4 separate regions of the Homo sapiens genome follow, and all the other regions are linked to region 2. Evidence: promoter capture Hi-C in human tissues and cell types (Jung and others, 2019). All regions are on one chromosome and are shown on one strand. Each heading gives the region's core, a stretch centred on a gene start or on the middle of the fragment in contact. The rest is flanking DNA. Distances are from core to core; before and after follow the strand shown.

Evidence for each region. The method cuts DNA at HindIII sites, captures the fragments that hold promoters and counts their contacts. A contact is called where the count stands out against the background at its distance.
Region 1: a contact is called between a fragment that was not itself captured here and the fragment with the promoter of EXOSC2 in region 2, in 1 of the 25 tissues and cell types used here (dorsolateral prefrontal cortex).
Region 3: a contact is called between a fragment that was not itself captured here and the fragment with the promoter of EXOSC2 in region 2, in 1 of the 25 tissues and cell types used here (mesendoderm cells).
Region 4: a fragment that was not itself captured here is called in contact with the fragment with the promoter of EXOSC2 in region 2 in 1 of the 25 tissues and cell types used here (dorsolateral prefrontal cortex).

Annotation. Positions count from the first base shown.
Region 1 is chr9:130,841,847-130,848,718 of GRCh38, forward strand. The region is part of intron 1 of ABL1 (ABL proto-oncogene 1, non-receptor tyrosine kinase); the gene reads left to right. Among named protein-coding and RNA genes, the nearest start is that of ABL1, 10 kb to the left of the region's middle. RefSeq lists an enhancer at 5,602-6,224 and a silencer at 5,816-6,110. The HindIII fragment of the contact is 3,526 bases long and covers 2,239-5,764 here.
Region 2 is chr9:130,688,450-130,695,029 of GRCh38, forward strand. EXOSC2 (exosome component 2) reads left to right here and starts at 5,331. Exons shown (of 9, transcript NM_014285.7): 1 at 5,331-5,464. The coding sequence starts at 5,343. RefSeq lists an enhancer at 5,394-5,583. The HindIII fragment of the contact is 7,301 bases long and covers 284-6,580 here.
Region 3 is chr9:130,899,399-130,906,543 of GRCh38, forward strand. FIBCD1 (fibrinogen C domain containing 1) reads right to left here. Exons shown (of 7, transcript NM_032843.5): 6 at 5,836-6,015; 7 at 3,042-4,925. The coding sequence ends at 4,666. Among named protein-coding and RNA genes, the nearest start is that of QRFP, 6.2 kb to the left of the region's middle. The HindIII fragment of the contact is 8,002 bases long and covers 1-6,438 here.
Region 4 is chr9:130,529,207-130,536,004 of GRCh38, forward strand. No RefSeq gene overlaps it. Among named protein-coding and RNA genes, the nearest start is that of FUBP3, 47 kb to the right of the region's middle. The HindIII fragment of the contact is 8,183 bases long and covers 1-6,798 here.

The sequences.
Region 1 (6,872 bases), core at 2,752-5,251, 150 kb after region 2:
TACCATGTTACACCATAAATATTTTTGTTATATTGCGTGTGTTGAGTACTGGTGATAGGGAAGACAGAGAGAAATAGGTGGGAAGGAGATAGAGAGAGAGAGAGGGAGGGAGGAAGGGGAGACATAAGGGGGAAATCTATAGAGACAGAGACTGAGAGACAAATACAAAAAGGTTGAGACAGGAAAGGGAAAAAAAAACAAGCTGGGAGGGAAGGAAGACTGAGAGAAGGGAGACAAAGAGGAATAGGATGGCCAGTGGGGCTGGGGTGGGTGGGTACAGAGAGAGAATGAGTGAGAGCAAGAGAAGCGCAGGAGACAGATGATGGACAGGCAGCTGATGTATGGATGGGTAGCTGGAGAGAGAGGCCATCAGTAACTTCACATCTCTCTGTTTCCATTTCCTGCCCTCAAATGCCTTCATAATAGAGTCTACGTAATAAGGTTATAGGGATTCAGTGCAGATGAAGTGCTGGCACTTGATACGGGATCAGTAAGTATTAGCTATTATTCTATCACATTAAGTTGCATAAACTTTAACCTCATTACTCTTAAATTCTCTATAGAAACCTAGTCTTTATCTGTCTTACAAGCCCTCAAATTTAGCTAATAGCGTTGTTCATTGAATACCTTAAAATTGTATTTAAAGACAGGCCGTGAATACAATTAGGCATTGCTTTTTGAAGCCAAAATACCATGAGGGTGGGGAGGGTCATGTTCATTTACCCAGATCAGCAATAAAAATACTAATGGCTAACAAGGCTTTCTGGGGAAATTGCCTGTCATTGGGTAGCCCAGTGCCTCTGGTGTCAGCTGACCCCGGAGTCCATGAAGACATGTTAAAAGAAGAGGAAATGTGAATGCTTTCAAACCAGCCATGGCTGGCAGCAGAAGGGGAGGCCTTTCAGTCTGTTGCAAATGGCCTGTGACAATAAAAATGCCTTTGTGGGTATTAGCAGGCTGACTGTGGACAGTCTGGATCTGCGGCCACTGCAGGGATTCCTGGAACCTGTTGGGAAGGTGTCCGGCGAGCTCACTGTGGTGTCTGTTAGGAATCTGGAGCAAATCCTATTTCTTTTGAAAGCACAGAGAACTGTGTTTTTACATTATACCTTTAGGATTTTGGCCATGGTTTATATTTCAGTCAAAACAAATCATTATGTTCCCTAGGCTTTTATATAGGTTTTCCTGGTCAGGTTGCATTTGTTTTTCAACTTTACTATCTGTCATTATTGCTGCTCTTATTACAGGTTAACAGATTATTAAACTGCACTTTTCAGTACCTTGTAGCTAAAGACAGACAAGTGCAGGGTGTTCCACATCTGAGTTCACCCAGCAGTGCTGTGTTGTTGCGTTGCACTGAGCAGGCACAGAAGGCTCTGAGATATGAGAGACTTGGTCTCTACCCCAGAGGAGTTTACATTGTTGTGGTGGCAGAAGAGAAGGCGTGGCATAAGAGAAGACGCGGTTGTTCTGTAGTGAGCATCCCAGTGTCAGGTGCCACAGTTGGCATCCATGCAGAAATTCTCTGCATGCAGGATTCATTGAGCCCTCCCGACAGCCCAACTAGGTTGATGCCATGCCGTTGTTGCCCTGTTGTGCAGTTGAGAAACTGAGGCTCAGAAACAAATGTCTTCAAGACATGCTGGTGCTGAGGTTTGAACAAGGCCTGTCCACCCAGAGCCCATGCTTTTTGTACTGCTGGGGACATGTGAACAGATTGCTTACTGGGTGATAGATGCAGGGTGGTGATAGAGACAGACACCAGGTACCCAAATGGGTTAAAGGAGAAGCATCCTGTTGTGGGCGAGGTGATGGGGAGGAGGAAGGACCGGTTAGAGAAGGTTTATGGGAGATGGGGAGGCCAGGAAGAGCAGAAGAGGCTGGGGAACGAACTCTAGGGAGAGTAAATGGCACTTGTCACAGTGCAGTCAGGAGAGGCAAGCAACAGGAGGCCTGGGGGATCTGAAAGGAGTTTGGAGAGGCTGGAATGGAAAGCAGGAGTAGAGGGCCAGATGCTCCCAGTCTCAACCCTGAAGAGCCTGGCATGCCTGCTTCAGGAGCTCAGACTTTTACTATAGTGGTGGAAGGAATAACAACCCCAGCCATTTTTTGAGGGCCTGTGCATGCCTAGGCCCTCAAAAACATGTCCCATGTTAGCTGCAAACTGCCAGCTACCCTGCAAAGCACATCATGATCCCAGCATTGCCCCCGATGACACTGCCAGTAAGTGGTAGCTGACCATTGGGAGACAGGGCCACCTCCCAAGCCCATGCTCTCTTCTGCCTCTCGGCTGGCAGCCATCTCTAAGGGATTTGAAGCAAGAGAGTGACCTGGTCAGGTCTGCATTTGAGAAAGATGGCCCTGATAGTAGGGAGTGGAGGTGGAATGGCCAAAGGGGGACCCAGCCAAGGGCGTGGTAGAGCATGGAAAGGACAGAAGTGATGAGAGATTGAGGAGGAAAAGTGCCAAGATGCAGGGTGGGAACTGACAGAGGATGACTTCCAGCCTCAGTCCTGATATGGGCGTCAATGGCAGGTGTTCAGAATGGCCTTGAAGATAGTGGCATCTCTATTTATGAGTGTCTTTGTACTCCATTTCCAGTAATTGGAGACTTTTTCACCGTAGATTCTTGGAAGGTGACACAATTTTTTTTTTTTCCTTTTTGGTTGAGGGAGGGGGACAGGGACTGTGTATCTTCAGAAAGGTTAATATTTGAGGCCAAGGCAGGCAGATCACTTGAGGTCAGGAGTTCAAGACCAGCCTGGCCAACATGGTGAAACCCCGTCTTTACTAAAGATATAAAAATTAGCTGGGCATGGTGGTAGGCGCCTGTAATCCTAGCTACTCAGGAGGTTGAGGCAGGAGACTCACTTGAACCCGGGAGGCGGAGGTTGAAGTGAGCCAAGATCGCGCCACCGCACTCCAGCCTGAATGACAAGAGTGAAACTCGGTTTCCCCACCAAACAAAAAAAGAAATACCTAGTTTCTACCAGAGACAGTCACAGGCACTGTACTTCTACTCTGGTTTGTTACCTGTGTTCTTAAAAAAATTAAATGCTACATTTTAGTAAGAGGTTAGTGAAATAAAATTTTAATTTTTCCCATCAGAGGACATGGAGCCCTTGAATTCTATCCCAGACTCCCAGGGTCTTCCAGGTTAACAAGTCCTGCACTAAGGAATTGGCTCAGTAAAACCTCAGCATTCTCACAGGAAGAGCCTAAAAAGGAGACTGGGATAAATTAGTGAGAGGTCCAAATTATGCAATTTTCTTTTAAAATAAATGCAGTTTTATTACTTTCCACTTGTAGCCATTATAGGCAGTAGATTAAATGAGTTTCTAGAGAAACCTCCTTTAAAAATAAAGTTATTTAATTAGTCCAAGGTTTAAATATTTCCCCTGGAATCTTTTACATGACAATGTCTTAGCCAGACAATTTTTAAGAAACAAAATTCTCCATCCTAACTCCTATCCCCATCAACAGTCCAAATCTTAACCTTTCTTTTTTTTTTTTTAGACAGAGTCGAGCTCTGTTGCCCAGGCTGGAGCGTGGTGATGCAATCTTGGCTCACTGCAACCTCCACCTTCCGGGTTCAAGCGAAACCCCTGCCTCAGCCTCCCGAGTAGCTGGGACTGCAGATGTGCACCACCACGCCCAGCTAATTGTTGTATTTTTAGTAGAGACGTGGTTTAGTAGAGACGACCTCCCAAAGTGCTGGGATTACAGGAGTGAGCCACCACACCTGGCCAGAAACCAGGTGTTTGATATCAGGTGACGGTTGTGATCATTGTTCGCACCACTACTTTGAAATGACATAGTTGCCACTGGACCTTGTTATTTAATGTGCGAATAAAGAGACAGTTATTTAAGGCATTAATAAGAGCTATATTACAAGTTTTTAAAAGTCTTTTGAGGACTGTTTCAAAAAGTCTTTTGAGGACTGTTCTCCTTTGCAATCCTCTGTAAATGCACCATTGCATTCCAACCCGGGCAACAAGAGCAAAACTCTATCTAAAAAAAAAAAAATTCATCCACAGGACAGCGCTGGCCTTCCGTTAGACTTTTGCTGTTGAGTCTGTAAGTTTTCAGCAGCTGTGTTTCTCCAAGGAGCGGGGCTACTGCTGGTTCTTTACGTCTTTCCCCCACTGCCCTGCCCCTCCCTGCACCCTAGCAGCTGACACAGTGTTTTGGGATTTGAAGATAACACAAAGGCTGTGTTCAGTTAAACGTATGTCTGTGTGTGTGTGTGTGTGTGTGTGTGTGCTTGTGTGTGTGTGTGTTTTAATAATTTTAACTTCTCTGGGTGAAGGTGTAAATTACAAAATAAAGGACCATGTAGAAATAGATAAAATGACTTTCATCAAGCTCAAAATGTGGGAAATAATACTTTTCCTCTAAGCTCATATTTTGAAAAGTTGTTTGAGACTGTTATAAAATAACTTGAGAATAGTCTGAGCATGATCTCATCCGCTGGAACGGAGTATGAAATAAAACACGAAGCCTCTTTTTAGAAGGATCTGTTTTATAGATTTTTAAATTACAGAGATTCCTTGAACTGGAGGATAATAGCGAAGGACCCACAAAGGAAATATGAATAAAGCAGCACAAGTTTAAATAATTGAATGTGAGCAAAATTAAAGGGAACGTTTGTCACGTCTGACATGCTCCATCCTCCTGTCCCCCCCACACTGAACCGTCTCCAAGAACCTTCCGGAGAGCCCACAGTGTGAACAGTAATGAATGCTCCATAGCTGGCCGCCTTGCACTCTAGTGGGAACTATGATGTTGGGCACAAGTGCCAGCAGGAAGGTGGGAAGCTTCCCGGGGATGTTTTTCCTGGAGGTCAAGTCCCCCCTTGGGCTGTGAAGTAGCCGGTACTGGGGTTCATGGGCATTTCCCTTCCCTGACTGTTCGCCAGCGTCTGGCACAGCACCAGCAGCCCCTGGAAGTCTAGGCCAGATATGCCATGTCCGAGAATCTTTTGTAAACATTTTTCATCAGTGACTCACAGCTTTGAGAAAGGATTATTTTTATATAAAACGATCTTTCAATTTTACTTTAAAGACCCAAACCATTTTCTTAGAATACTGTCTAAACAAGTTAATCATGCACAGATCCAGTGAATTCTGTGGCCTGGTTCTTATAAAATTTCCAAATAATTTTATACTGTCATAGACAGAGCCAGAGCTTTTTAGAGGTTTGAGGCATTTTTTAGATGTATTACTGTTCTCGGTGCTCAACTAGCTAATTAGTGATTTTTTCTGAGTTTAGTTGGTGAGTGGAAACCTTTTTGTTAACATTATGACAAAATAACAATATGGTTTTAAGTGGAGTGAGAGGCACTTTTGAAGATCCAGATCTTAGATCCAGATCTTAAATCTGTTTAAAGTATGACTCAGAAAGGAGGCTGCAGAAAATGTTCACTAAAAAAATTTAAGAATAATAGCAGATGCTAAAATTTATTTCCCAAGACAATAGCCAAAAAGATCTGCTGGAAGAACAGAAGAAGGGAACTAGTTGGGGCATCTTTTTTTTTTGAATGAAGCCTTCAGCCTTCTTTAGGGGAATCTTGCTTCCTGACAGAGGGACCGGTGGAAAGTTTGTGTCTTAAGCAAGAAAGATTTAAGTACATTCTGCAACTTTGGCCTTGTAAGCTGTGATCATTTTTAAGGTTGACGAGCATAGTTCACTATGAAATGAAGCAAGTAACTTGGCATTTATACATTGTGAGTCAATTTTGACATCAGCCTGGATTGGGAATTGACTGGAAGGTTTTGGTGTTGGACTGTGGCTACACTTCAGTGTCTCGGTCCAGAGGCATGCATGAGCAATACTTCCCTTTGGGCTTTAGCCATTAATTTGTGGAATAGAGCAAGAACTGGAGAGGAAAGTCGAGAGACTGCCTTGGATCGCCTGACGTCCTGTTGAATCAAAAAGCAGTGGGAGGCCCTTTCCTTCCTAACAAAGGCCTCATCCTCTTGCATAACATTCCCAGCATCTGTCGACATGTTCGGGACCATCCCACTTTAACCCACACTTCAAGTGGATGGCCACCTCTGGGCGGGGATCTGCATTCTGCTTATTCCAGGTGTTTTCCAGGCCACTTCCCCGATTATGTAACTTTGATCAAATCCAGATGCGGCAGAATGTTTGATAGAAGAGGTCAAATGGCATTTGAGAAGAAAAGCATTTCTGTATTCATGACTTTGGTTTAATTTCCTGTGTGGGCCTGGTCTGCCAAAGTTGTATGCTCATGGCCACGAGGTTGACGCACCAGAGGGAGGCACTCAAGTGCCTTTTCAGGACAGCCTGAAGGAAGCCTCCCTCCCCAGCATGCTTTTTCATGTTAAATTATCAATTATGTAAGTTTAGGGCCAGGCGCGGTGGCTCCTGCCTGTAATCCCAGCACTTTGGGAGGCTGAGGTGAGTAGATCACTTGAGACCAGGAGTTCAAGACCAGCCTGGCCAACATGGCAAAACCCCGTCTCTACTGAAAATGAAAAAAAAAAAAAAAAAAAAAACTTAGCCAGGCGCAGTGGCTCACATCTGTAATCCCAGCTACTCAGGAGGCTGAGGCAGGAGAATCACGTGAACCTGGGAGCTGGAGGTTGCAGTGAGCCTAGATCGCACCACTGCACTTCAGCCTGGGCGATGGAGTGAGACTCCAACTCAAAAAAAAAAAAAAAAAAATTTCAATTGGCTTCTATTAAAGCTTTTTTATGTTTGTCATTGTTTTCTAGTAATAACAACAATCCACATTTTTTGTGAGAAATATACCATAATATAGAGAAGTATAAAGAAAATGTAAGGCCAGACACGGTGGCTCACGCCGATAATCCCAGCACTTTGGGAGGCTGAGGCAGGCTTATCAC
Region 2 (6,580 bases), core at 4,081-6,580:
TGGCCCTGAGTAAGAGAGCCTAATAAAGGAGGTGTTTGTGGGTGTGGGCTCTGGATTGGGTGGCATGCATTTGCAAGGGACCTCCTGGGTGAGTTCTTCACTATCTCCAGGAACCAGTTAACCCTGGTTGGGGCAGTCCCTCTGGGAAGAGCAAGTCCCCAAGATCTCAAAGCATCTGAGTACAGAAAAGCAAAGGCTCTGGGCACAGTGGCTCATACCTGTAATCCCAGCACTTTGGGAGGCCGAGGCGGGTGGATCACCAGGTTAGGAGTTCGAGAACAGCCTGGCCAACATGGTGAAACCCCGTCTCTACTAAAAATACAGAAATTAGCCAGGCGTGGTGGCAGGTGCCTAAAATCCCAGCTACTCAGGAGGCTGCAGTAGGTTCAAGAGGAGAATCGCTTGAGCCCAGGAGGCAGAGGTTGCAGTGAGCAGAGACCACACTATTGCACTCTAGCCTGGGCGACAGAGCAGGATTCCGTCTCAAAAAAAAAAAAAAAAAAAAAAAAAAGAGCAAATGCATGCTTAATACAAGGGCCTACTATATATCAAGCATATATACGAAATGGGCAGTGAACCAAATGGACAGTCTGGGTATTGGTGGGGCTCATATCCTGTGGGAAGACAGGCGATGAGCAGACAAGCAAATCTGTATTTTGTAAATATATTGTATTTTTTTCAACAAATATTTTATGGCTGCCCTGTGTGCCAGGCCTGGATCTAAGCATTGATATATGATGAACAGAATAGATAAAGTCCCTGTTTTCAGCAATGCATGTTCTAGTGGGGGGAGACTGCAATCAATGAACAAAAAAAAAAAAAAAAAGAAAGAAAATTGAAGCCCAGGCATGGTGGCTCACACCTGTAATCCCAGCACTGTGGGAGGCCAAGGTGGGCAGATCACTTCAGGTCAGGAGATTGAAACAAGCCTGGCCAACATGGTGAAACCCCGTATTTCCTAAAAATACAAAAATTAGCTGGGCGTGGTGATGGGTTCCTGTAATCCCAGCTACTCCGGAGGCTGAGGCAGGAGAATCTCTTTAACCCAGGAGGCAGAGGTTGCAGTGAGCTGAGATCGCGCCATTGCACTCCAGCCTGGGTGACAAGACCAAGTCTCTCTCTCAAAAAAGAAAGAAAAGAAAAGAAAAAGAAAAATCAGTGACAAGAAGTAAAACAGGATCAAGGGATTAAAAAAAAGGACTGGAAAGTTATTCCAGATAAGGTGATCAGGGAAGTCTTCTCTGAGGAGGTGATGTTTGAGCAAGCCATGAGTGAGGAGAAGGAGCCAGCCACACAAAAGCCTGGGAGAAGAGAATTCATGCAGAAAGAGACCAGAGTGAAGGGCCCTGGAGTGATGAGAAGCTTGGTGCTGTGGAACCGAGGGGAAGCCAGCTAGTCTTGAGGCAGGAGAATAGGGTCTGGAGGCAGGGAACATAAGGCTGATTCACACTGACTTTCTAGAACTAAATCAAAAGGAAAACCCCAACTTTCCACGTCCAAGTAACCAAAGGACCAGAGGCTACTCCCTTTGCAATCCCAGCTTTTCTGTGTGCAGATGAAAAACTGAAAGTACCTCTGATTGCTCCCTTCCCACTACCAGTCAGGCTGGTAGGTGGCCAAGTCTTCATTTGCATGGGAGTATAACTTTGTAACTTCACTTCAGCCTCTGATTGATAACTTTCCACAGCCAATCAGACATTGGCGTAGGGTGTAACTTTTAACTTCAGCCTCTGATTGGCCACTTTCCACAACCAATCAGACTGATCACGGGCCACTCCTTCATTTACACAGGGCGTACACCAAATAACCAATGGGAAACCTTTAGAGGGTATTTAAACCCCAGAAACTTCTGTAAGGAGCCTGTTGAGTTTCTTTGCTTGAGCTGTTCTTGCCCTGTAGAGTGTACTTTCGTTTTCAATAAATCTCTGCTTTTGTTGCTTTATTCTTTCCTTGTTTTGTCTGTATGTTTTGTCCAAGACGCCGAGAAGCTGGGCACCCTCCACCGTTAACAGTCCGGCTGCAGCATAGTGAGTAACGCAGTGGGTTAGGACGAGCGTGAGGTCAGAGACAGGCAGGAGTCAAGAAGTGCTGGAAGCAGAGAAGTGATTTAATCTGTTTTTAAAGCTCTCTCTGGCTGCTGTGCGGAGATTGGATGATAGGAAGGACAAAAGTAGAATTAGGAAGACAAGCTAGGAGGTTATCTCCCTGGTAAGAGATGCCGTTGATCAGCCTGGGGCAGTGGCTGCGGAGATGCACAGATGTGTGGCATCAGTGAATCTTAGACCTTTTCCGCCATTGAAATTACATAGGGAGTTAAAACACGCACAGACTTCTGGACCTTACCTTTGCAGAGCCTTGTGAAAGGCAAATAAATCTTGGGGCCCCAAAATCACTAAGCTAAAGGGAAAAGTAAGTCAAGCTGGGAACTGCTTAGGGCAAACCTGCCTCCCGTTCTATTCAAAGTCACCCCTCTGCTCACTGAGATAAATGCATACCTGATTGCCTCCTTTGGAGACGCTAATCAGAAACTAAAAATACAAAAAATGCAACCATTTGTTTCTTTTTTCTTTCTTTTTTTTTTTTTTTTTTTTTGAGACGGAGTCTCACTCTGTCGCCCAGGCTGGAGTACAGCGGTGCGATCTCGGCTCACTGCAAACTCCGCGTCCCGGGTTGAAGCCATTCTCCTGCCTCAGCCTCCCGAGTAACTGGGACTACAGGCACCAGCCACCATACCCGGCTAATTTTTTTTTTTTTTTTTTTTTTGTATTTTTAGTAGAGACGGGGTTTCACCGTGTTAGCCAGGGTAGTCTCGATCTCCTGACCTCGTGATCCGCCCACCTCGGCCTCCCAAAGTGCTGGGATTACAGGCGTGAGCCACCGCGCCTGGCCTCAACCATTTGTTTCTTATCTACCTATCACCAGGAAGCCCCTTCCCAGCTTCGAGTTGTCCAGCCTTTCCAGACCGAACCAATATTCATCTCACATATGTTGATTGATGCCTCATGTCTCCCCAAAATGTATAAAACCAAACTGCGCTCCGACCACCTTGGGCACAGGTTGTCAGGACCTCCTGAGCTTGTGCCACAGGCACATCCTCAATCTTGGTGAAATAAACTTTCTAAATTAACTGAGACCTGTCTCAGATATTCGGGGTTTACAGCCTCAATGCCTAAGGAATCTATACTTTTTACAAGCCCCCTGGGATGTGCTGCTTCGTCTCCGGGTACCCACTTGTCTACTGGTCGTAAAGGGGTAAGTGTGGCCGGGCTTGGTGGCTCATGCCTGTAATCCCAGCACTTTGGGAGGCCAAGGTGGGCGGATCACTTGAGTTTAGGAGTTCGAGATCAGGTTGGGCAACACGGTGAAACCCTGTCTTCACAAGACAAATACAAAAAATTAGCCGAGCCTGGTGGCATGTGCCTGTAGTCCAAGCTATTCAAGAGGCTGAGGTGGTAGGATTACCTGAGCCCAGGAGGACGAGGCTGCAGTAAGCCATAATCGTGTCATTGTACTCCAGCCTGGGTGACAAAGACTCTGTCTCGAAAAAAATAAAAATAAAAAAAGGTGCGTGTGATGATGCAGAAAGAGGAGCACTGGGGATGGGAGAGGGGGAGTCCCTGTCGTTTTGGATTCTAGTCCCAGTTACGGGTCTGTTTGGGGGGCTCGGTGGCCCCAAGTGATCATCAGGGATAGCAATGCCTATCTCGAAGATGGGCTGAAAGTGAGGAATACATAACATAGTATTTGTAAAGCACTCAGCAAAGGACCAGCCGAAGCACTCGGGCTATTTCTGGTAAAGGGTGCAGGCTCTGGGGTAAATCGCGTGCAGTTGGAACACACATCGGCTTTGCAGCCATCTGCTAATGTGAATTCCATTCCTTTTGGGGCCTCGATTTCCTCCTCCATAAACTGGTATCCACAATGCCAACCTTGTGAACGCTGTGAGAATGCGCGGGGTAAAGGCGACGTCTCTCCCTCCCGGGAAGAACTTGGATGGTGTCAGGCCTACACTCTCGCTCCGCCTAGGGCCGCTCGCTGGGCCTGGCTCCCCGGCTGCCGGGCTACGCGAGCTCAGAGGACACCATCGCCCTCTTATGGCCGCGGCAGGACTGGACCGAGGGGCTGGGCTCTAGTGCCTTCCTCCAGGCACGGCAGAGGGCGAGGGTCTGGCAGCCCGCTTACCCAGGGCCTCGGGGCACTAGCATTCATGTCATCGACTGCCTGGCAGGGCTGGCTTTCTTAAGTGTGGTCGTGAGACTTGCTTAAGTGGAAGAAATGCTGTCGCTTTGGAGATTTATAAAACAATTGGCTCGATGGATCTTTCTTCAGGAGGCGGACTTGGTTTACCGGCTTTACTGACCACAGCTGATGCCAATGATTTCATTTAATCGTCTTTAGAGTCCCTGTGCATGGGGAGTTACCATCCCCAATTAGTTTCTTGTGAATGCAGGGCAAGGAGAGGGAGAGGGTAGTGGGGGACGGGGAGAAGGGGCGAGGGGTACCCTCCTATTAAAACGGAGCCGCAGAAAAACCCACAGAGACATCCGTCTGTTCCCCGCTGAGTCCTTAGAACAGCGCCTGGCACACAGAGAGCGCTCAACTCGCTGTGTAACTAAATGCAAGCCAAGATCTTCGCATTGTGTGTGCTCTTCCCTTCCCTACCAAATATACCTGGCTTGCAAGGTTTGACCTGTTTTCTTAGACGATTTTTAACTTGTTTCCAAAAGAAATATTGGAGTAAATTAGCTTGTTCAAAGGAGTCCTTATGAAAGGACAGAACCAAGTGAGAAGTATCTGGAGCCCGGTTTGGGGTTATAGATGATGATGTTGAGCCAGCACCCACGGGGCGGCCGCAATGTAGAATCCTGGCGCTACTGGGAACCGTGTGGAAAGGGGCTCTTCTTTCTGTTCAAATAGTGTTTTCTGTAGATCCCATCTCTCCATCCTCCTGAGCTCTCTCTTACAAAATATCGGATTTCAGCAGCTTAGAATTGGACAGAAACTCAGAGGTCCGTTTCTCAATTATCTCTAACCCTGGTAAACAATAAATGGGATGATGAGTACAAGACAGTTTTGGTAAAAAGTCACACGCCACACAACGTGAGATTTTATTATTCCACGGGTGCTTCCTTGCCAATAGTAGACATGGCAGCTCGGCTCCCTTCCCTTCGGGTTCGCCTTATTGTTGCCAATTGTAAACATGGCCTCTAGGCCGTGAGTTCTCATTGGCAGCTGCTCTGAGTCCCCGCCCTTCCCCGCCCCTCCGAACGCGGCCTGGAGTTGTGGAGTCGGATATCGCAGCTCCCGACTGAGCTGCGCCTGCGCAACTCATTGGCGCCAAGATGGCGATGGAGATGAGGCTTCCAGTGGCTCGCAAGCCTCTTAGCGAGAGACTGGGCCGCGACACTAAGAAACATCTAGTGGTGCCGGGGGATACAATCACTACGGACACAGGATTCATGCGGTACGTGGGGACTTGGGGGAGTCGAGGCTTCAGAGAGCGGCTTCAGGGCTCTCTGCACGTGGTCCAGGCCTCGTATCCCTGTGTGTGTAACTCCCCGCGGGACCCAGGGCACTTCGTCTGAGCATCCTACACACCTCGCTTCCGAGCCTCGTGCTTCTTGCTCCCTGCATCTTGTGTGTCCCCGTCTGCATTTGTCTCAGCTCCCTGAAACCCTCCACTCCTGACCTCCGGTGGCTGTGACTTTTGGGTCTTCTGCCTGAAGTCCAAATCTTTGATCCTTCCTTGTGGGAGACCTGGAAAGCTGGGGAGGGTTAGGTGCAGGCTCTTTTCCAGTTTTCAGCTCTCTGAGGGGACGGTGGGCGTTCTTGGCTGCCTCCTCTTCAGTTTAGAATCCGTAATTGTTCGATCTTAGGGCAAACAGTTACATTGTGCTGCATGCACCCATTTATACACATTTTGAATCTAAGGGGTGTAGTGCAGTGTATTGTGGTTAAGAGGGAAGGCTCTTGAGTCAGACAGTTGGGGTTCCGGTCCTGCTACCATCACATCTTATTAGCGGCATTGCCTCTCCACGGTCAGTTTCCTCATCTGTAAGATAGTGATAATAACAGTATGATACGGTAATGAGGATTAAATGAGACAATTATGTAAGAAAAGAAGTAAAACCAGCCATTATATCATCATAGATAACACTAGTGTTTCAACCTTTATTATTATTATTTTTTTACTTGTATATGTACAAGGGGCACAGCATTCATAGCATTGCCCTTTAACCTGTTAGTTTAAGGTTAGTGGATACCAGGAAATTTTTTTTTCTTTTTTGAGACGGAGTCTGTCTTAGATCAGTCGTGCGATCTCGGCTCACTGCAACCTCTGCCTCCTGGGTTCAAGTGATTCTCCTGCCTCAGCCTCCTGAGTAGCTGGGATTACAGGTGCACGCCACCATGCCTAGCTAATTTTTGGTTTTTTTTTTTTTTAGTAGAGACAGGGTTTCACTGTGTTGGCCAGGCTGGTCTCGATCCCCTGACCTCAAGTGTGATCTGCCCGCCTCGGCCTCCCAAAGTGCTGGGATTACAGGCATGAGCCACCATGCCTGGCCCCTAGGAAATCTTAAGA
Region 3 (7,145 bases), core at 1,188-3,687, 210 kb after region 2:
AATAAACTCCAGGGATTGTTTTATCCGTAAGCCTCAAATTGATGTTATGAATAAATAGCCATGGGGGACTGTTCATTCAATAACGTGTCTCAGTTCCTTGGAACTCTGTCCCCAGCCACAGGGACCCACAGGATAGTTTATCACCCCGGGGACCCGGGAGGGATGCACCGATGCCGCAGGACCCGGGTTCATCCTCCAGAGCCCAGACCCCAGGAGGACCGACCCCACTGGGCGCGGCTTGTGCAGGAGGCAGGCCCTGCGTCCGCCTGACCAGGTCCAGGCCATCTTTGCAAAGCCCAGAACTGGCCCAGTCAGAGGGTCTTGAGCAGCCCTAGTGGGTCCAGAGCTATCTGGGAAATGCCTTTTGGCTGCTCTAATGAAAATGGTGGCTGGGTGCAGTGGCTCATGCCTGCAATCCCAGCAATTTGGGAGGCAGAGGCGGGAGGGTGGCTTGAACCCAGGAGTTCAAAACCAGCTTGGGCAACATAGCTAAGACCCCGTCTCTACAAAAAGTAGAAAAAAAAAATTGCTGGGTGTGGTAGTGCGCACGTGTAGTCTCAGCTACTCAGGAGGCTGAGGTGGGAGGATCGCTTGAGCCCAGGAGTTCGCCACAGTGGGCAGTGATGGTGCCACTGCTCTCCAGCCTGGGTGACAGAACAAGACCGTCTCTAAAAATAAATGATGAGAGGAGTTCAGGGGAGACAGAGCGAGAGGCAGTCCTGGAACACGTGGGTATCTGATCCACTCAAGCTCTGACACGAGGCTTGGAGTCCGGCTGGAGGCAGAGACCAGAGCTGGGTCACCATGAGACTTTATTAAAGACAGAACGCACAGACACCAAGTGCTGACAGCCTCGCCTAGCGATGCTCCCATACCAGGCTTCCTCCACCAGTCGCTGTGCTGGCCCTCTGAGCTCCCTCTGCAGCCCTGGCCAGTGCTGTGTGGCCCGAGTCAGACACACCTGTCAGCGCATGAGGGGCCAACGTGGCCAGCCTTGAGCCAGAGCTCCCAACACTCCCTACAAATCCCACCGAGGCCCGACCTCAGCCCTCTGGGTTTGCCAAGTCCTGCCGGCTGCTTGGGCCACACAGTTTGGGGACATCCTTGTCTCTGAAAGCAGATGAAGAAATGGAGGCCCTGGGGAAGCCCGGTCCGCTGAGGCCAAAGCTTAGTGTCCTGTCTCCTTGTTCTGGGTTCTGTGTGTCCCCTGCTGGGTCCTCCTGCCGGTACATTGCTCCTGAAGTCACAGGACGGGTCTGCCGCTGGCCACAGGCGTTCTTTATGTCCCGTCCCCCCATCTCACACAAACGGTACCTCTCCTCTTCCTTCCCCTCCCTGGAGCCAGCGTCCTCATGGTTTGAGATGGTTCAACAATCCTCCAAATCTCTGCCTGCTCAGACACGCCCCTGGGTGACAGGGCCTCCAGAGACCCTGGCTCCCAGCTTCCAGGGCTCTGGCCCCAGCCAAGCCAGCCAGAGGCCTGTGTGGACGAGGACAGGTGGCAGGAAGGGTTAGGGGCACCAGAAGGAGGTAGGCACTGGCGATACAGCTTTTGTCCCAAAGACAAACATTATAAAACCAATTTACACGCAGCTGCAGGGGAAAGCTGTTTGAGAATGGCTCACAGCTCTGTTCCTTTGCTGTTCTCCAGCTGAATGTGCTGAGGCCACCAGCATGGAAACCAAGGTTCCTTCCATCCTCTGGACCTTGGTGCTCAGGCAGTCAGCTGCGTGGCCTTTGGTGTAACTCTCTGAGATATGTGTGAAGTTTAGGGGAAAGGAGGAAGGCCACTGGCTGAGCCACAAAACCTACCTGTGCACGTGGAGAAGCAACGGCGCAGGTGCGCTGCCTCCAGGTCCCAGTGTGGCGATGCAGAGACCCCTCCCACTCAGCTTACTCCCCTCAAGTGAAGCAGCAGGAGGAGGCTCAGTCAGGTGGCATTGTGGGATGGAGGGCTGCAGGCATCCACCCTCAAACTGGGTCCCAGGGGACGGTTTGGGGCCCGTGGGTCCCAGGCGACCCTGTGCACATGCTAGCCCTTGGCCTGGTCACTCAGCCCACAGGTCTCGAGCTGTCCCTCGCCCAGGGCTCTCCCAGCATCCCCATCCTCCTGTCTCAGATGAGAGCCATTTGCACTGGTATCAGACCGTAGGCTCTGCAGGGCTAGGGTGAGAGGGTGTGGCCCGGAGCAGGTGCGCAGGGACCGTTTTTCCCCAGTGCCAGCCTTTGAAGGTGCCCCTGGGGAGGGTGGGGCCGGTGCGCTGGCCTGGGCCCTCCCCACCATGTCAAGCTCCGTGCCCATTCAGCCGGTGCTTGGTAGGGCCATGTGCCCTCTCCTGGTCTGGGACAGGGGCCGGTGCTCTAGGGCAGTAACAGGGCTCTAGAAGGGACAGGCATCCCCAGTGCAGCCAGCCACTGAGGACAGATGCTGCCGGGACCTGGACCTGGACCACAGGCTCACAGGCCACCTGCACCTGCCCCCGGCCCCTCGCCAGGCCCCAGCCATGGTGCATCTGTTCCACAGCCAAGCCCTGGCACGAGGGCCCTGGTGCCTCCTGCTGCACCCACACATCTGTGAGTCCATTAACTTCACACTCACCAGGAGTTTGTTTGATGACACATCAGAAAGTGCTGGCACTTTCTAAGCAGTCGCTGGCGCAGTCACTGGCATGGGGAGGCTGGTAGCTCCTGCCTGGGGCCTGTCGGTGGGGGGCTCCTGGGATGAGAACTCGGGTCCCACCCAGCCCCTGCAATATGACAGGGTGCTCTGGGAACCCAGATGGTCTGGGTGGGCTCCCTTGGCTTCTAGATGGTGGGAAGAGGAGCCAAGAAGGGATTTCCCGTTGAATCTCATGTGGTCATTTTGCCCACATCTTGCCCCTTGTGGCCCCGCACCTGGCCTGCTCCAGCCACCACCCCGGCCACACTAGGCTGCCACTGCCTGATTCTTGGCTGTATCTGCGTCCAGCTGAGGACCGAGAGGGCAGGGACCAGGTCCTGTCCAGCCTGGGCCCACGGCAGAAGGAAGCGCTGCAGACATCTGCGCATGTGGATGACCTGGTGGCACTGGGACAGAGAGCCAGGTCACACGGCCTCTCCCACCAACCCCCAGTGGTGCCAAGTCAAATTTATTGTTTTTTAAGCACAAACTTCAGTGGGAGGGGAAGGGAGAACGGAACCCCACACCCCCTAGGCACCTGCCATCGGGTGTCCTTTGGAGGAAGCCACCTCCCCTCCTGCCCGAGGAGAGGCTGCTAGGCAGCTCCCCAAGGCTGACTCCAGCCCTTTCGGAGGCCCCCCATCAGGAGGCCTTGGAAAAGCCGCCCTGCATCTGGGCCTGACGTAACGCACGCGGGTCCAGGGCTGCTGAGCAGACAGCTGAGGACCCGGCTCCAGCCCTGCCCTTGTGGCTGCTGGTCCTGGGAGCCTGCGGGTCTCACCTCTGCATGTGTGCACACAAGGAGTGGGGATGACAGCGTGCTGGGTGTTGGGAGGATTCAACAAGAAAGTGTCCAGGTGGTGCCTGGTCTGGTGCCCCAGTCCCCCCGACCCCATTTGCCCGGTGAGGTGGTCCCTGTCCCTTGACCACTCGCCGGGCCGGGCCTGGCCTGGGTCCAGGTGGCCACGGTCAATGGCAAGGGTTGGCCTCCTCATGGAGACAGCCACCTCAGGGAAGGGGTCATCACCCCCAAGGCCCTCCTGGGAGGCCTCAGGACCCTGGAGTCCCTGGGAAATTGGTGGTGGGGGTTGTACAAGCCTCATCCCAGCCCTGCCTAGGCCCCAGCCCAGAAAACCAAGAGCTTCCCATTAGCGCAGTCCAGCCCCACGGTGCAGGGCCCCACCCACCTTCCAGAGGCAGGAGAAATGGGATGGCAGCCCCAGCTGCCCCAGGTAGGAGGACGGCCGGGAGCTGGGTGGGGGATGGGTTGGGCCTCATTTGAGACAGAGAGCAGGTGGGCACAGCAGGTAAGAGGACTGCAGACCCCAGGCCTGCCGGGGCACAGGGTGGGTGGCCTCCAGGGAACTGGTCTCAGCCTTGGAGCGTGGGTCCCCAAAGGCAGCAGCTCCCCATCCTGACCTCAGGGCCTGGTAGGATGGGGCCACCCAGCCCACAGCCAGGCTGAGGCCCTTGGGGGAGAGGTGGGTTCTCTGGGCACCAGGGAAACGGGGTGGGGGTTGGCATTGGGAGGGCTGGAGGATACTGGCCTCAGACCTGACCTCAGAGAGACCTGACGTTCCCCACGATCTGCTAGGAGGACTCCAGGGGTGCTGTCTGCCCCCTGCTCTCTGTCCCCATAATGCCGGGTATTTGGCCGGGCAGGGCAGAGGGTGCCTGGGGCAGACTCCACCATCCTGGCCAGGGGACGGCAAACAGCACCGGAGTCACAGTGGGGGCAGGCAGGAGTTGGGGTCGTCAAGTTTGCCAGCCCCCATCAGCAGAGGCAAGAGATCAGTGAGCTGCCAAATGGAGGGGGTGGGGACGGCGAGAAGGCGATGTGTGACTTCACCGGCCCAGGGAGCTTCGTGTCAGGGATGGCCCGGCCCCTCCCTACTGGAGAGTGGGTCCGCCAGGCACAGGTGGGTGGAGAACATTCACGAAAGAGTGAGGTGGGGTCGGGGATGGGGCGACAGGGACCAGCAGGGCCAAGGACAAGGTGCACCAGTCTAGCGGTCCTCCCGGACCGGCCGGATCTTCATCTCAGAGAACTTGAGTGAGTACTGCCAGCCGGTCCAGGAGGACCACTCCACGCCGTCGGCATAGGAGGCGTGCGCACCGCGCAGGTACTGCCCATTGAGGTTGGACGTGTGGCAGTTGCGGTACCACCAGGCACCGCGGTAGAAGGCGGCACAGTTGTTCTCTGAATGGTCGCTGTCACGGTCCTTGGTGGTGAACCTCATGCCGCTGTGCTTCAGGAGGGAGTCGCCTGCGCAGGGGTGCACACAGGTGTGGGCACGGGGGGCACGGGTACACCCACTGGTGTTGCATGTGTGAGCAGACACCGAGACACTGCACGTGCACCTGGACGTGAGTGCATACACGTACGCACGTGCTCTCACACATACTGCTGTGCACGCGTGCAAGCGCACCTGCCCCTCCACACCCGGGTGTGTCCATGCAGCTCACACGCACGCAGTCCCTTCTCGGGCGTGCCTGGGGCTGCCCCTGGGTCTAGGCGGTCTCTATCCCTCCCCCCAGCTTTTCCACATTCCCTCTCCTGCCTCCCCGCTCCTCGGCCTGAGAGGGGAAACCCAGCCCAGGGGGGTCCAGCCACCACACTTTAGAGACCCAGCGGACCCGAACCCCGGGTCTCCTGATTCCTGGCTCTGGGCTCAGTTTCTTTATCTGCAAAACGGGAAAACAGTCCAGGCTCTGCTGGCTTCGCCTTGCAGGGGTGAGGACCAAGCAGGACTTGGAGGAGGAGGCAAGCAGCCTTGACCCTGACCCCAGAGGGCCGAAGGGCATCATCAACACTATTATGAAAAAACGAACAGAAGATTCGCAGAAGCTCATCTTTTATGACATGCAACTGAATCAACTGATGAAGACAAGGACTGAGGGATCCTTGGTAAGGAAGAAAATTTTCCCTTTTCTGTCTTGTTTACTCTTCCAATTTGAAAAATTTATTACTTAAAAAAAATTTAGATTGGTTTCAGGCCTCTGATTGTGATGTGGGGTTGGTAGTTTATCAATATTTGTTATTTTTCAAAAACCTGATTACTTTCAAAGGGGGAAAAATACATTAGCCTTGATCATTTTGGAGGGCAGGACCTCCTCCGTCCTCCATCCTCCCAGGCCGCCCCCCTTCCCCATCCCTGCCACAGCTGGAGCCTCACCTGCAGTGCCGGAATAGTCAGCCACGGTGAGCGGGTACCCGTCTTCCTCAGGGTCCACGGAGAACAAGCCCACGCCGAAGCTCCCGTAGCGGGCATAGGCCGTGCCATTCTCAAAGTCCTCCAGGTCCACGTGCAGCTCGTAGGCAGCCTGTGTGGTCAGGGCGTGGATCCTCTTGAGCCCTGAAGTTGGGGGGAAAATGGTGGGAGAAGCTGAGGGGCGTAGGAAGCGACTCCCCAGGGAGAAATGATAAATGACAGCTGAGCTCATGCAGTTGGGGACAGAAAGGGACAACCACCAAGTGCGTGCAATCAGCCCTGGGCTACTTCCTTCTTCCTGCAGGCCTGTGTTGGGCAAGCCACTGAGGACCGACAGTTTTCATGTTTGGTTTTCTCTGTTCCCTTTAAGTGGAGCTGTGATGCTTTTCAAACGTTGGGGCTCTGAGCTGGTGGGAAGACTGCAGGAGGCGGGAGGAGGTGGGGGTGACAGCACCCTTACCCAGACTCCAGCCAGAGCCAGACAGACAGGATCTGTGTTCGCATTTTCCTATACCTGGCCTCTGGGCCTTTGCACATGCTGTTCCCTCTGCCAGGATGCTTGTCCCTACTCCTCCTCACTTGGTTACCTTCTATTCATTTCTGGAAGGCTGCCTGACCTCCTGTCGGCGTTGAGGACCTCCTCTGCCAACACATGTGCCCCTGTGGGTATTTATCTTTCAGGGTCCCGGCTGCCTATCTTGTCAGTTTCCCCACCAGTGCGGAATTCCCGTGACAGTGGCATGTCCGACCTAGCCACTGCTGACCCCAGTGCCTGGGGTGGGGCCTGGCACAATGGTGCTTACCCAGCGCTGGCTTAGTGGATGGGAGGGAGTTGGCGGCACCCTCACCCCTCTAGGCCGGCTCTGTGCCCCCATCCTACTCTCTCCCTCCTGCTGTCCCCGCCCCACCTCAACTCTGCCCTGCCCATCCCCGGGGTCTCATGCCAGGCCTCCCCTACCATACACATACGTGCTCAGACTCCCAAGATGCTTCACTGCTGGTGTGGTTACTCTTGATTAAGAGGGCATTTAATGAAATGTTTCACAAGTTAGTAGCAGCGAGTGGTATTCCATCCGCTTCTCCCTCCTGCCTGCCTCTCCCCGGCTCCGCACCTCCCGGGGTCAGTGTGTGCTGGCTGGAGGCTGTGCGGATCCTCCCCCATCCCGCCCGGACAAGAAGCCTTTGGTCCCAGTCACCAGGTCCAGGGACCAGGAGCAGCTACTGTGGGAGGAGTCACAGCAAAGCTGACCGCACGACCCACGTTCCTCCCCAAG
Region 4 (6,798 bases), core at 2,519-5,018, 160 kb before region 2:
TTACATGTGATGAAAAGCCCTGGGAAGGAAACCAGCAGGATGAGATGCAGGACTGGAGATGAGGAGCGAGGTCTCTTCAAATAAAGACATATGAGCTGGCACAGTGGCTCACACCTGTAATCCCAGCACTTTGGGAGGCTGAGGCGGGGGGATCACTTGAGCCCAGAAGTTTGAGACTAACCTGGGCAAATGGCGAGACCCCATCTCTACAAAAAATTTAAAAATTATCCAGGTGTGGTGGCATGCACCTGTAGTCCCAGTTACTTAGGAGGCTGAAGTGGAAGGATCACTTTAGCCTGGGTGTAAGTTACATATAGTCAACTGCACAAATCTGAACTGCACCTCAGGAGTGTTCCATGCCGCTCCCAGTCACTATGGCTGTGGTGGTGCATTAGCTACCTATTGCTTCAAACAACACACGTTGATCATCTCACAGTGGCTGTGGCTCGGGAGTCTGGGCACAGTTGAATGGGTCTTGTCTTCAGGGTCTCATCAGGCTGCAGTCAACAGACACACACACGCACATACGCACACTCCCCACTTCTCATTTCACTCCGGGAGGTTCTAAACACCAGCACTCCCAACCTTGGCATGCACATGGATCAGCTGTTGAAATGCAGTCAAGGTGTCAGCCGGGCTGCATCTTCTTTCAGAGCTCAGGTCGTCTTCCAAGGTCTTGCATTGGTCGGCAGAATTCAGTTCCTTGCACCAGTAGAACTGAGCTCCCTGTTTTCTGGCTGGCTGTCAGCCAGTGGCCCCCTGGTGCCACGTGGCCATCTCTAAGGCAGTTCACACCATAGAAGCTTGCTTCTGCAAGTCTCTCTTCAGCTTTTTTTGTTTGTTTCATTTTCTTTGAGATGGAGTCTCGCTCTGTCACCCAGGCTGGAGTGCAGTGGCGTGATCTCAGCTCACTGCAATCTTAGTCTCCAGGGCTCAAGGGATCCTCCCACCTCAGCCTCCCAAGTAGCTGGGATTACAGGCATGCACCACCACGCCAGACTAATTTTTGTATTTTGGTAGAGATGGGGTTTCGCCATGTTGTCCAGGCTGGTCTCAAACTCCTGGACTCAAGTGATTCACCCACCTCAGCCTCCCAAAGTGCTGGGATTACAGGCGTGAGCCACTGGGCCCAGACTTAAGGTTTTACCTAATTAAGTCCAGCCTAACCCTTTCAATGAACTCAAAATGAACTGCCTTGAGATCTAAATTACACCTGCAAAACTCCTTCAGCTTTATCATCTCAGCCAAAAGCACATCCCTAGTCCCACCCACAGTCAAAAGGAGGGGTTACAAAGAGTGTACATACCAAAGGTTAAAAATCAGTGGGAGTCAGCCAGGGATGGTGGCTCATGCCTACAGTCCTAGCTACTTGGGAGGCTGAGGCGGGAGGATCTCTTGAGCCCAGGAGTTCAAGACCAGCCTGGGCAACATAGCAAGACTCCATTCTTTTAAACAAAAATTACAGGGGTCACTTTAGGGTCTGTCTGCCACAAATGGTAATGACAATTCTAACCTCTTCAACCCCAATTAAAAATTAATCATTTACTAAAAACTTACGAATTCATTAATTAATTGTGTCAGACTCCTTTTATCTTTTTTCTTTTTTCTTTTTTTTTTTTTGAGATGGAGTCTCGCTCTGTCACCCAGGCTGGAGTGCTGTGGTGCGATCTCAGCTCACTGCAACCTCTGCCTCCCGGGTTCAAGCGATTCTTCTGCCTCAGCCTCCTGAGTATCTGGGATTACAGGCACAGCCACCATGCCCGGCTAATTTTTGTATTTTTGGTAAAGATGGGGTTTTACCATGTTGACCAGGCTAGTCTCAAACTCCTGATCTCAAATGACCCGCCCGCCTAGGCCTCCCAAAGTGCTGGGATCACAGGCATGAGCCGCCGCGCCCGGCCTGCATCATATTTCATTATGGGAATGCACCACGATTTATTTCACAACTTCTGTTGACAGATATTTGGGTTGCTCCCAGTTTCTGGCTATTGAAATAGAGCTGCTAGCACGTGGGATTCTGGATCAGATTTTAGACAATCCAAAGACATTAATGAAAAAACTGATGAAATCAAAGTCTGTAGTTTAATTAGTAATATTGCACCCATGTTAATTTCTTAGTTTTGACAAATGGGCCATGGTTATAGAAGATGTTAACTGTAGAAGAAAGTGAATGATGAGTATACAGGGGCTCTCGGCACTATCCTTGCAACTTTTCTATAAAGCTAAAATTATTCTGGGCCCAGGCGTGGTGGCTCACATCTGTAATCCCAGCACTTTAGGAGCCAAGGTTGGAAGATCACTTGAGGCCAGGAGTTCAAGGCCAGCTTGGTCAACAGAGGGAGACCCTGTCTGTACAGAACAAATAATAATAAAAATAATTCCAAAATAAAAATTTTTATAAAAATAAGTAAATAAAGCTAATAGCAAACATCTGCTACAGGCCACGGAGGAGTAGTGGGTATACAACTAGCCCTTGATGGAATCTATGAGGCTACTCTGTTCGGTGCAAGACCATAGATTCAGACTGTGCAAGACCACAATCCCTGAGAGAAGGGAAACCCATGAAGTGAGCCCCACAATCACCAGATCTCTGCCTGGGGCCAATTTCCCAGCCACAGACCAGAGAGCAGGGATCCAAGCTGCAGTCATCCTGCTGAGCTGGGAGGCAGAGATAAGGACACGGAGCTACTGAGGCCGCAGGGTCTGCAGGGCTGGAGGAAAGGATGATGCCAGGGCTGGGTTTCTTTTTTTTTTTCCTTTCTTTCTTTCTTTCTTTCTTTTTTTTTTTTTTTTTTTTGAGACAGAGTTTCGCTCTTGTTGCCCAGGCTGGAGTGCAATGGCGCGATCTCGGCTCACCGTAACCTCCACCTCCAGGATACAAGCAATTCTCCTGCCTCAGCCTCCCGAGTAGCTGGGATTACAGGTATGTGCCACCACATTCAGCTAATTTTGTAATTTTTAATAAAGACGGGGCTTCTCCATGCTAGTCAAGCTGGTCTCGAACTCCCAACCTCAGGTGATCCACCCACCTCGGCCTCCTAACGTGCTAGGATTACAGATGTGAGCCACCATACCTGGATCTTTTTTTTTTTTTTTTTTTTTTTTTTTTTTGAGACAGAGTCTTGCTCTGTCACCCAGGCTGGAATGCAGTGGCACCATCCCAGCTCACTGCAACCTCCGCCTCCCAGGTTCAGGCGATTCTCCTGCCTCAGCCTCCCAAGAAGCTGGGACTATAGGCATGTGCCAAACCTGGCTAATTTTTGGATTTTTAGTAGAGATAGGGTTTTGTTATGCTGGCCAGTCTGGATTCAAACGCCTGAGCTCAGGCAATCCGCCCACCTTGGCCTACCAAAGTGGTAGGATTACAGGCATGAGCCAGCATGCCCAGCCTCAGGCTGGGTTTCTAAGCAAGTCTTTGACTATGGCCTGGGGGGCACACACTCAGGACAAGACGACTTGAGGCTTTCCAGAGAGCAGCTGCTGTGAGTGCAGTGTGGGACCAGATCCTTGAAGACCCCCTGGGGGAAAAGAGGCGGGATGGCAGAGGAAAGGGTGGGAGCGGATCACACAGGTCCCTGAGGGCTGAGAGGAGGGTTTGGCTTTTGCTCCAAGCAAAGTGAAGACACCAAATGGTTTGGGCAGAGGAGTGCCCTGCCCTGCCATTGATAAAGGGCCCCGCTGGCTGCTGAGTGAAGAGCCTGTTAGATCTGTGGTGGGGGCTCGGGTCAGAGCCGAGGGTGGAGGTGGCTGTCAGTGTCAGAGCGGAAGCCACTCCAAAGGTGGAGCCCATCAACTGGACCTGGGGGTGGGAGGAAGACAGGAGCCAGGAGGGCTCCAAAGTTCTGGCCTGTTGATTTCCGAGACACTTGGCTTTTCCTTTTTTCTCCTTTTGAAAACCAGTTAATAGACGCTTGGCTTTTTCTTACAGCAGGTGTGCATTACCATTGCAATGAGAAAACCCCAAAAAGACATACCTTTTACTGGAGGGGGAGAAGGCATTCTCCATGTTGAAAGCATTCTCCACTCCTTTCCCGAGGGGAGCCATGAAGGAGACACGCGTCTTTCCCAGGTGCCCCCCATTGCCCAGTGGTCTGCCCCGTCTGCTGCACAAGGTTTGTCTCTGTCTCTTGCTCCTTCTTCCCGCTATGTGTGTCCCTCCTGTCCTCCAGCCCCTGAACAGGTGCTGCAGGGATGGACAATGGGGAAGAGCCAGCACTGGGGCTGGGTGGGGGTGGATGAGGGGTGCAAGAAGTTCAATGAAAGACTTGCCTTTGGTTAAAACAAATTTTTTTTTTTAAAAGAGCATCTTTCTCCCCTATCCGAGCAAGGATGGCCTTTGGGACCACCAATGCTTGTGACTACGACTTGCAGAACAGAGACCTCTCTTGGTCTCACTCCTGCGCCCAGCCTCTTGTGGCCTCACTGGCCCTGGCTGTGGTCCCTCCTGCCCCTCAGGGGTCCCTTCCCACCTCAGAACCTTCCTTTTTTTTTTTTAGACGGAGTCTTGCTCTGTCGCCCAGGCTGGAATGCAGTGGCGCCATCTCGGCTTACAGCAACCTCCACTTCCCGGGTTCAAGAGATTCTCCTGCCTCACCCTCCTGAGTACCTGGGATTACAGGCGTGTGCCACCATACACCGCTAATTTTTTTTTCATATTTTTAGTAGAAACAGGGTGGCCGGGTGCGGTGGCTCAAGCCTGTAATCCCAATACTTTGGGAGGCCGAGGCAGGCAGATCACGAGGTCAAGAGATTGAGACCATCCTGGCCAACATGGTGAAACCCCGTCTCTACTAAAAATACAAAAATTAACTGGGCGTGAAGGCGCGCGCCTGTAGTCCCAGCTACTTGGGAAGCTCAGGGAGGAGAATCACTTGAACCCAGGAGGCAGAGGCTTCAGTGAGCCGAGATCGCGCCACTGCACTCCAGCCTGGCAACAGAGCGAGACTCCACTCCGTCTCAAAAAAAAAAAAAAAAAGAAAAAGAAACAGAGTTTCATCATATTGTCCAAACTGGTCTCAAACTCCTGACCTCAAGTGATCTGCTCACTCGGCCTCCAAAAGTGCTGGGATTACAGGTGAGAGCCATTGCCTGGATGTCCCAGAACCTTCTCCCTGTTCTGTTACCCAGACTCCTCCTTTCCCTCTCTCTCTGCCCACCTGGGGCTCGGCCTCCTTCAGGGCTCAGTGTTCCGGGGCCCCTCATCCCCCTCCCCCAACAGTCTCCCCACCCATAGGGTCTCTGCCTCCAGGAGACCTCCAGACCTTCCAGCCAGCGTGAGGCCTGTTACAGGCTTGTGTGACTTCCCCTCAGAGCAGTGTCAAGGCTGTAATGAATGATGATTTCTGGGATTTTTCATTCACTGTCTATCCCCCGTGCTAACCTGGGAGCTTCTCGTTCACCTCAGTATTCTCAGCCCCTAGCAGAAGACCTAACCCATAACTGATGCTCAAAAGATACTTATTAAATCAAATGATATATAACTCAGACAGAGATGAGTACATCTGAACAAGTGGCGCCCAGGAGCTAGCACGCAGAATGGGCTTTGAAAGTGGATACAATTTCACTAAGTGAAGATGGAAGAATGGAGGTTTCCAGGGGGGAGAGCTCACCATGAACGAAGAAAGGGAAGCAGGAAAGTGTGTGTCAACTTCAGTGCCCGGAAGTGCATGCACAGCAAAAAACAAATATTTTTAACCTTTTTACAAAAAATACTGGGAGTCTCTCTCAACCTATTCTGGTCTGGGGGCTGCCCAATTCATGAATCACCAGAATAAGTAAATAAATGTATAAATAAAATACTTATGGCAGGGTGTGGTGGCTCACACCTGTAATCCCAGCACTTTGAGAGGCCGAGGCAGACAGATCACTTGAGGTCAGGAGTTTGAGACCAGCCTAGCTAACATGGGGAAACCCTATCTCTACTAAAAATACAAAACTTAGCTGGGTGGGGTGGCACATGTCTGTTATCTCAGCTACTCAGGAGGCTGAGGCAGGAGAATCACTTGAACCTGGGAGGTGAGGCCGCAGTGAGCCCAGATCATGCCACTGCATTCCAGCCTGGGCAACAGAGTGAGACTCTGTCTCAAAAAAAAAAAAAAAAAAAAAAAGACAAAAACTTACCAAACGAATGACTATTTGGAAGGGTGGATGGACGGACAAGCAGATGGGCAACAGGTTAAAGCAAAGCTCCTCCTTTTAAGGAAACAGAAACCGAGGGCTGGAGAGAAAGGGGGCTCCTGAAGATGACTGCGTTGCATTGAGGCAAAAGGAAAGCCGTTGTACCTTCAGACCATCTCTCGCCATCCACCCTGCGTGACCATTGCCTACGCCAGTCTTCCCTCCTCCCAGGACCCCTGCCCCCCACCCCCAGCATCCTCTCCAGTGCCCCCTCAAAGGTAGCTACTTTCCTGCTCATTACTTTTTACCAAACCTGGAGCCGAAGCCCTGAGTGAGCAGCTGGAGGCGGGGATGGGCCCTTTGTCCAAGCCTCAGCCCGAGGGTGGGGGTGGGGAATGAAGCTGGGGGGCTCCGTCCTCCCCGCTCTCTCTGCCATCTCCCTCGCTGACTTTTGTCCTTGGATCGCCTGCGTGATCAGAAGAGGTTTCATTCTCTGGCAACTGTGCAGCCATTAGCGAGAGGCAGACGCATTACCCTCTCACCGCACAATCGTTGGCTACTTCAGTTATTCTATTTCACCTGAAGACTTTATTTGCAGCCGAGCCTCCCCTCCGGAGCAGGGCAGGCCCCATCTGTCGGACAGTTTGCTCCAGCGTCTCCGGCCATTATGCCTCCACTTGG